Regions from separate parts of the Homo sapiens genome. Here region 1 is linked to region 2. The links are contacts of gene promoters, found by promoter capture Hi-C in blood cells and fetal thymus (Javierre and others, 2016). All regions are on one chromosome and are shown on one strand. The core of a region is centred on a gene start or on the middle of the fragment in contact, and the rest is flanking DNA. Distances in the headings are between cores, read along the strand shown. Region 1 overlaps HEATR5A (HEAT repeat containing 5A). Region 2 holds the start of COCH-AS1 (COCH antisense RNA 1).

What was found. The method cuts DNA at HindIII sites, captures the fragments that hold promoters and counts their contacts. A CHiCAGO score of 5 or more calls a contact.
Region 1: a contact is called between a fragment that was not itself captured here and the fragment with the promoter of COCH-AS1 in region 2, in 1 of 17 cell types (erythroblasts). The highest score is 5.3, in erythroblasts.

Annotation. Positions count from the first base shown.
Region 1 is chr14:31,355,850-31,360,521 of GRCh38, reverse strand. HEATR5A (HEAT repeat containing 5A) reads left to right here. Exons shown (of 36, transcript NM_015473.4): 15 at 1,465-1,628; 16 at 1,710-1,885. Among named protein-coding and RNA genes, the nearest start is that of HEATR5A, 62 kb to the left of the region's middle. The HindIII fragment of the contact is 5,963 bases long and covers 1-4,672 here.
Region 2 is chr14:30,887,291-30,891,553 of GRCh38, reverse strand. It overlaps COCH-AS1 (COCH antisense RNA 1), which reads left to right and starts at 1,746. Exons shown (of 5, transcript NR_038356.1): 1 at 1,746-2,170; 2 at 2,299-2,411. COCH (cochlin) reads right to left here. Exons shown (of 12, transcript NM_004086.3): 12 at 936-1,938. The coding sequence ends at 1,763. The HindIII fragment of the contact is 10,353 bases long and covers 1-4,263 here.

The sequences.
Region 1 (4,672 bases), core at 1,422-3,921, 470 kb before region 2:
TGTGATAAATGGATCAGCTTTTCAAAGTGTATATGTTAGAGAGGCAACCATATGTTGTCTCCTGTGTTATTGGAGAACACAATACCACTTATGAACTAACCTGCACCCCACCCTGCCCATCACCAAAAGCAAAAATGAGCCCCGTCTAGATACAACTACCAATTTATTTTTTTTAAAAAGTACAGATAGAAGAACAAATTAAGCTATACCAGGGGCCTATAATCATAAAAACCCAGACTGTAGAAAATTGTACAAAACAAATAACCTTGTTTCTTCAAATAAATTACCAGTGAGGGGAAAGGTATAGGGAGAATACTAAATTGAAAGAGACAAGATAAACTAGCTGCAATGTGTACACCTTACTTAGATCTAGATTCAAACACGGAAGCAAACAAAAACAGGTGTTTATGAGATAGTTGGAAATTTGAATACTGAATGGGTACCTGATGTTCAGTGGCTTTTTTTTTTTTTACAACATGAGATTATGATAGCAGGATTATGTTCAAAATAAAATGTATTTCACTTTAATGATACACGGTGAAATATTTATGGATGAAATGATGTGCTGCCTAGGGTTTTCTTAAAAATAATGTGGAGAAATGTGGGATCAGGAATGGGGATGTAGGTGAAATAATACTGTTGCAGCTGGTAAAGATGAATAATGAGCATATGCTGGAAGGGATAGGGGCAGGCATCATCATAGTACTATTATTTATTTATGTTTGAAATTTTCCATAATAACATGTCTAAGTTTTCTCAGGATAATTCTTTTTTTTTTTTTTTTTTTTTTTTGTCTTGAGATGGAGACTCATTCTGTTGCCCAGGCTGGAGTGCAGTGGCTGATCTTGGCTCATTGCAACCTCTGCCTCCCAGATTCAAGCGATTTTCCTGCCTCAGTCTCTGAGTAGCTGGGGTTACAGGCACCTGCCACCACGCCCGGCTAATTTTTGTGTTTTTACTAAAGATGGGGTTTCACCATGTTGGCCAAGCTGGTCTTGAACTCCTGACCTCAAGTGATCCACCCACCTTCGCCTCCCAAAGTGCTGGGATTACAGGTGTGAGCCACCACACCCGGCCTCAGGCTAATTCTTATACATTTTTTCAGACTGTGCTTTTTTAAAAAACATATCTGCTTTTGTAAATCTTTTTTTACATCTATTTTTATATTTTATGTCATGTTATACCTTAAGGTATGTACACACACACACACACACACACACACACACACACACACTCTTACACTTTGAGATGTTCTTTTAGTATCCATTCTTAACCTTGTTACTAGCAACACGTAGTTGAGCCAGTCATTTCTAGGGCAGTTTTCAAGGATGAGAAATACAGTCTTTTGGCTGTGATATGTTAAAGTTGGCCAGTGGGTGCATTAAAGCTCAACCTGAGTTTTAAATCCCATACTCTCACCAGATAATTAATAGTACTAATTGCTCTTTTTCTGTGACTCAACAGGAAACCTCTGTGCTATCCTCAGAGAGCTGGCTGCTGACTTGACTGCCCCTGATATTCAGGTGGCAGCATCTACATTTTTACTTCCACCCCTCTGTCATCAGGATGATCTTTTGATACTAAGTCCTTTCCTACAAGAGACTGACCATAGATTTATTGAAGAACAGGTATGGCCATTTTTTACTCTTGATTAGATTCAATCTGTGATCAGTGATTTTAAAACCTTATATACTTTTTTTCCCTTTTAGCTCCTGCTTGGTAATGGTGTTGCTTGCGGAAGTCTTGAATATGACCCTTATTCGATTTATGAGAAAGATGTAGAGGGAGATTCAGTGCCTAAGCCCTTACCTCCAGCACTATCAGTTATTAGTTCTGCATCCAAGCTCTTTGGGGTTGTATGCGCTCATGTGGGAGAAACTCAAAGGTAAATATCTTCAATGGTTCAGTGAATGGATAATAGAGAACTGGTGGGTAAGAAGAATGTTGCCAGAGATCTCATTAGCGTAAATGATTTCTTATAAATAACAGGTGAAGGTGAAATATAAGTTTTTGTTTAATTATTCACTTGGCTAATACTTAATAAGAAATGATTAAATGCCTAAAACCACTAGAACTGTTGTGGATACAATACTTTGCTCACAGCTTATCATCTAGCTGAAAATACAAATGAAAAATAATGACATAAGATACTGATTTATGAGCAGTCATTACAAAGACACATACTAGGTTTTTTCTTAGACTAGGTCTCATAGGCTTTCTTACCTTGGAAATTTTTTGGAACCATTAAAGGTCCAGGGATTTGTCTTCAGTTGGAGGGATTTTAAATGGTTTTTATCAGTTCACTTAAAATGAACTTTAGACCAGTGGTCCCCAACCTTTTAGGCACCAGGGACCAGTATGGCGAAAGACAGTTCGTCCATGGCGTAGGGATAGGAGGAGGTTTTGGGATAAAACTATTCCACCTCAGATCATCAGGCATTGTGAGGGGTGCACAACCTAGATCCCTCACATGCACAGTTGACAATAGGGTTCACACTCCTGTGAGAATCTAATGCCACTGCTGATCTGACAAGAGTTTGGCTCAGATGATAATGCTCGCTTGCCCGCCACTCACCTCCTGCTGTGCGGCCCAATTCCTAACAGGCCGTGGACCAGTACCAGTCCGTGGCCCACTGGTTGGGGCCCCCCTGCTTTAGAACACACACACATACACACACAAAGATAATAGATATTTAATTAACTTGATTGTGGTAATCTATTTCACAATGTATATATGAGCAAAGCCTCGTTAAAAACATCATGTTGTATACCTCATACTATGTAGGGATTTCCATCTTATGCTATTGTATGTGAAAAATTAATAAATACAAGATGTCCTCCCCAAAAAATGGACTTTGGTTTTGAAAAACCAAAGGGTGATAATGATTTCTCATTGAGAATGATAGTTTCTTAATTAGTAACTGGACATATACATTTCTCAGGCATCAAAATCCACTATCCAGGAAATTCTTGTTACTATCTGAAAAACGAAATGGGAAGTGAATCTCTCTCATAGGCTATTGTGGCTAATAATAGTTTACAAATCACTGTCATCCGCACTGATTCATTCATTCATTTCCTCTCTCTCGACCAACAACCATGCATTTGACTAGATCATAGCTTTTATTATATCTTCTTATCCAGTTATATCTTCCAGAGGATACCAGTTAGACAATTTACCTTTATCTCTTTGGTGAAGACTTAGAAAAATATTTTAATTTCATCACCAACACCTCTCTGAAACAGGTCTTGGGATGATGTGCTTTCATTGCATAGAAAAGTGAATGAAATTTATATTGATTTTTACTAGCTTCAGTTTCAAAAGATAGTGTTTTTTCCAAATGTATTTGTAGCATTTCCTGTAATACTGTAACTATAAGGTTATGGTGATAAGAGAATATATGACTGAATTGTTAATGAATGAAGAGGAAAATTACAGTGGTTTGGAATATTCAAAGAAAGATTCATGGAGAGGATGAAATTTGAACTAGTCTGTAACTGCCTTTTTATAGAGCATATAATTACTTTAGAATAATTAATTTGGATTAATATACCAATAACTACTGTGGATGAAACAGGGCTGGCCTTTTAAGCAAAGGATTTAAATTAAGCCTGTTCTTAAATGGTTCCACTATCTTTGATGGGTCTAAGGTGGAAAAGCAAAAAAGAAAATATACTTTTTACAGCCTTTCCTCTTAAAAAAGTGATTTTACTATTCTAGAGAAGTTTTCTTTTCGGATTTATTGCCCAATTGCAGTTTCAGGAAGATCCTTTCTTACTAAGTTTAATGAATTTTTTAATGTGCTCATAGTTTTTGTATCCCCACCTAAGTTATAATAATAATAATGAATATTCAAGGAAGGGGAGATTTTGTTTGTTTTGATAAAAACATTGAGAACAGATAAAAGCAAACCCTATCATTCTGTTTGGATTCTAACAAATTTGGAACAAACAGGATTCTAACTATTTTGGAAAAAAAATAGTAGGTGACCAGGCACAGTAGTTTACACCTGTAACCAAGCACTTTGGGAGGCCAAGGCAGGCAAATTGCTTGAGCCCAACAGTTCAAGAGCAGCCTAGGCAACATGCAAAACTCCTTCTCTACAAAAATAAAAAAATTAGCTGTGCATGGTGGTGTGCAACTGTAGTCCCAGCTACTGAGGAGGCTGAGGTGGGAGGTTCGCTTGATACTGGGAGTTAGAGGTTGCAGTGAGCCAAGATCTCGCCACTGCACTCCAGCCTTAGCAACAGAGCAAGACACTGTCTCAAAAATATATTTATAAAGAAGTGGCCTGGCAAGATCCCAGATACAGAAAGTGGGTTATAAGCAGTTATCCACAGTCTCCAGTAGGTGTCGTTACAGAACCAGAAGATAGAAACTACATGAATAGGGAAGTTAAGTTTCTAATTTCCTGTTATGCCAGATATGATATTTATGTAAAATATCAGGCTGTTTGCTTTTTGGCCTTACATTTGAGTTCTAGAGAAGAAAGGTCTTAATTAAAGTATCTAAATTTAAACAGCAACCGAATATTTCAAGCCATTTTGTTGTTATTGTGGTTAGCCTTATGTTTAAACAGTTGTGTAACATGTGGTTGTCCTAAGGTTGGAAATAATACTTACGTAATATAAATTAATGCACAATTTATTAATGCATATGTAATTGTCTTTT
Region 2 (4,263 bases), core at 497-2,996:
ATTTTATAAAAGGGGAGGTTGTCTTCTCAAACTCTATTTTCAAATTCAAATTTTTATGTAGTGAAAAAGTCAATTCCAGTTTGTTTCTCCCTGCATGTAGTCCTTTTATTCCTCTTATGCAGGGTATAAAATTGTAAGACTCAGAAGATTTACTGGAGTATATTATTCTAACCAGTTAACACATTTCAGGGGGCTTAGGTGGATGAGAGGAGGAGATAGGACCTATCTTTAGAAAAGACAGACAAGGTGGGATGATAGAGCACCTCTGTCTTTTGGGAGAGGCCTTGGTAAGCGAATCATCTAAGTCACATTAAGGGAGTCCTGATGTTCTCCTTTCATAGGAACCAACTTCACAAGCATTTTTAAGTAAAAAATGATGTCAATTACAAAACATTTCTGGTGAAGCAAGTACTCAAAAATATCTTATACTGTTTAATCAGGTAGTGGCTGTGTATAATGCCTAGGACAGTAGGTATTCGATAAACTTGTGTCTTTTTATTTTTTTTTTTATTTTGGAGATAGGGTCTTGCTCTGTCACCCAAGCTGGAGTGCAGTGGTGTGATCATGGCTCACTGTAGCCTTGACCTCCTCGGCTCAAGCAGTCCTCCCACCTCAGCCTCCCAAGTAGCTCAGACTACAGACATGCACCATCCCACCCGGCTAATTTTTTTTTCTTTTTTGTAGAGGGGGTTCTCACTATGTTGCCCAGGCTGGTCTTGAATTCTTGGCCTCAAGCAGTCCTCCTGCTTCAGCCTCCCAAAGTGCTGGGATTACAGGCATGAGCCACTGTGCTTGGCCTCAATAAATAATTGAATCAAAGAAAAAATATTCTTGGTATTATTACATGATTTAAAAAACAATTCAGATTGGTCTTTCCACATGAATTTTTACCATATCCTCAGGGGAGACACTAGCAGTAATAAAAGTAAGCCAGCTTACAATAACTCACTAGCAGTTTTATTGCTTAAATATTCAAACTACAATATTTTTTCTGCAGTTATTTGAAATGTCTTTGTCTTTAAATGTTTATAAGCAGTCAGTAAATACTTTACCAACTTAACTTTTAAGTACTTAGGTGACTTAGAATATAAGCCAAATATATCTATATACATATAAAATTAAGGAGAGAAATAGAAAAATACCTGGCAATCCTGCTCTCTTATTCAGTGTGATATTTTTAGTCATAAGTTGTTATGAAAACACACTACAAAAGCAGTTTGATACAGGTCTCCTTTCTATATCCAGATTTTATAGTCTGCAGTAATAGCTAGCTATTATTGATTGGTTTTAAGAAAATATCCACTTGGGTCAAAATATGTGTACCTGAACCATGTTAAAGAGCTGTGTTCATTTAAGTTTCTCTTTTCATTTTGCTTATATAATCAATACAGAATGGTTAGAGAACGAATGTTGCTTTTGGTCTAAGTATCAGATTCTTTTATTGAGCTATGGAATTTGCATATCTGTACATTTAGTAGGCATGGTTAGAACTCTTAAGGTTTTAATCCACATTATCTCCTCTTTCCTGAGTTTCTAAGAGCCATGATTATGAAGCCTCAGCAGTGTTTTTAACAAAGTACACTGTAAATTGTAACCAGAAGGCAGCGGCTTTAAAGGAGTGCTTATTTGCCTAAATGGCTGTTGACATACTTAATAGTTTTGTATCTGATTCTAGTATGCTAAAGCATTTCAGTATTATGAGAATACAATTTACACACTGGATCCCCTTGTACTTTTTCTTTCAGTTGTCAAAATGTTACCATTATTGCTGGGATTCTAAGAAATCTCTACAAATGCCTCTGATGACATCAGAAACAATTGGTTCTAATCCTGTGAACTCTCTTGTGAAGAAAGCATGAGACTCCTTCGGTTTAGAAGCCATATCTTTCAGGTCATCCAGAGGTGCCCAAGCCACACCAACAGAGAAGATAGTGATTCCTACAATGAAAACATTTTAAAGTGAATTGAAAATCAGGTCTAGCTAATATATGGAATTATGTCTATATGTTTTCCATACACTGTTACATAGTTGCAGCGAAAACTGCTTACTAATTTCTGGACAATTAAATCCCCTGAACAAATTAAGTTTTCACAGTCATTGTGACGAGAGTGGCAAAAGAGTGGTCCAAACCAGAAACTCTGCTATATCTGTAATTCGCCACATTAACAGGTAAGTCATCACTGATAAGAAATAATTTGATAAAGTTCAATATCCATTAATGACAGAACACACCTATAAACTAGGAATAGAAGAAGACTTTTAACCTGATCCACAGTATCTTTTTTAAAATCCTACAGTAAATGCGGATGGTGAAAATTTTCCGTATGAGGTTGGCCTGCATCAAACAGTATACTGGAGTCAGAGTCACAATCCATTAAAGCAAGGAAGAATGGCACAAGAGATGGGATAAGTAAATAGCAAAAGTGTTCAAAGGTTGCATTGTTTGAGGAATGGTGACTAGTCCTCTGATAATGAAAAATCCTCTTCCATTTCAATCTTTATATTGGCAAACTGTCTAATAATCAGAAAATGTCAGCCTATAATCCCAAAGCAAAACTAGTGACTAAAAAGTACTGCCCAAGAGGGATCTTATGAAACTGGAGTAATTTCTTCCAGTTTCATTGAGGTATTCTATTTCCATTCACTTTAGTTACTAGAAGGCTTTTAGTACAACTGTACATTTAGGGTAATAATACATTAGTTGGATTCACCCCAATCCCAATTGTAGAAGTTTTCATTTAATCTTTTTTTTTTTTTTTTCTCAGACAGGGTCTGGCTCTTTTGCCCATGCTGGAGTGCAGTGGTACAATCAAGGCTCACTGCAGCCTCAACTTCCTGGGCTCAAACTATCCTCCTCAGCACCCCCATCCTCAAATAGCTGGGACTACAAGCGCATGCCACTAAGCCCAGCTAATTTTTAAATTTCTTTGTAGAGATGGGGTTTCACCATGTTGTTCAGGCTGGTCTCATCTCGAACTCCAGGGCTCAAGCGATCCATCTGCCTCGGCCTCCCAAAGTGCTGGGATTACAGGCATAAGCCACCACACCTGGCCTCATTTAGCAGATTCTTAGTGTAGAGTACCATCTATCTAATGCTGGGTGCAATTTTCTATAACTTTTGGAGTTTCTGTAATAGTTTTCCTCTACAGATCTAAGGTTTCATTCCCCTTCTAGTGGTATACAGTGCTCAGAGTGGTAAATACCTAAGATATGCAGCAGGTTTAGATGATGTAAAAGCTACTTGGAACAATGTCCAATTGTTCCAGTCTCCTTTTCCTGACTCTCACTCCCTGGTTAAAAAAAAAAAAAGTCAAAATATTTTTTTCCTCCCCCTCAGTTTTCCTCACTTCTTTTCAGTTCTACATTCTAGTTCAGATTGTTTAGCTCAAGCCCAGCATATAATTACAGTTAAAAAAAAAAATAATCACACCACTGTACTCCAGCCTGGGTGACAGAGCAAGACCCTGAAAATAAATAAAAACTGTTGTGATCTACCCCTAAAATCCTACCCTATTTTCTGGCTTTTGCAACTTTCAATATCACTAAGGGATAATTTTCACGAATCAATATTGGTGTAGTCCAGCCTCCTGAACTTTAATCAACCTAATCACTTTATAGCCTGAATACAATCCTGTTAACTATAAGTTCAGTAAGCTAAGTATTAAGGAATATGATAGTAAACAGGTCTTTACTTCACAGGCTAGTTGCTGATGTATAAAAAATACTTTTTACAAGCTAGATGTGGAACTTAAATTGCATGTGTTCTCTGTTTTAAGAATAATCTTTCATCAGTATCTGTAAAAATATGTGAGTACATTGGCAGAGGTACTAATGTGTAGAAAGGAAAAAGGTTATGTCATTAGGAATTAAGTAGGGAAAATGAGGTACAGAAGAGTGTTAAAAAAAACAAGTCCATTGATTCTTCCCTCCTGTCACTCAGTTATATCCTCAGAAAGGGAATCTTAGCTTTTTGTTGGCCTATTTGATCTCTAACACATTACGTTAATGTCTTCAGGAACGAGGCCTGTGCCAAAAGTAATATTAAGGCTGGGGTGAGGAAGAAAGAAACCCTTCTTATACCCTTTTATAACACCAGAGTGTGTTTTTATTATCTTAAGCGGGGGGGAAAAAGTTTTTTTTTTTTTTTTTTTTTCTTTTTGAGACAGAGTCTCACTCTGTCGCCCAGGCTGGAGTACAATGGCACGATCTCAGTTCATTGCAACCTCTGCCTCCTGGGTTCAAGTGATTCTCGTGCCTCAGCC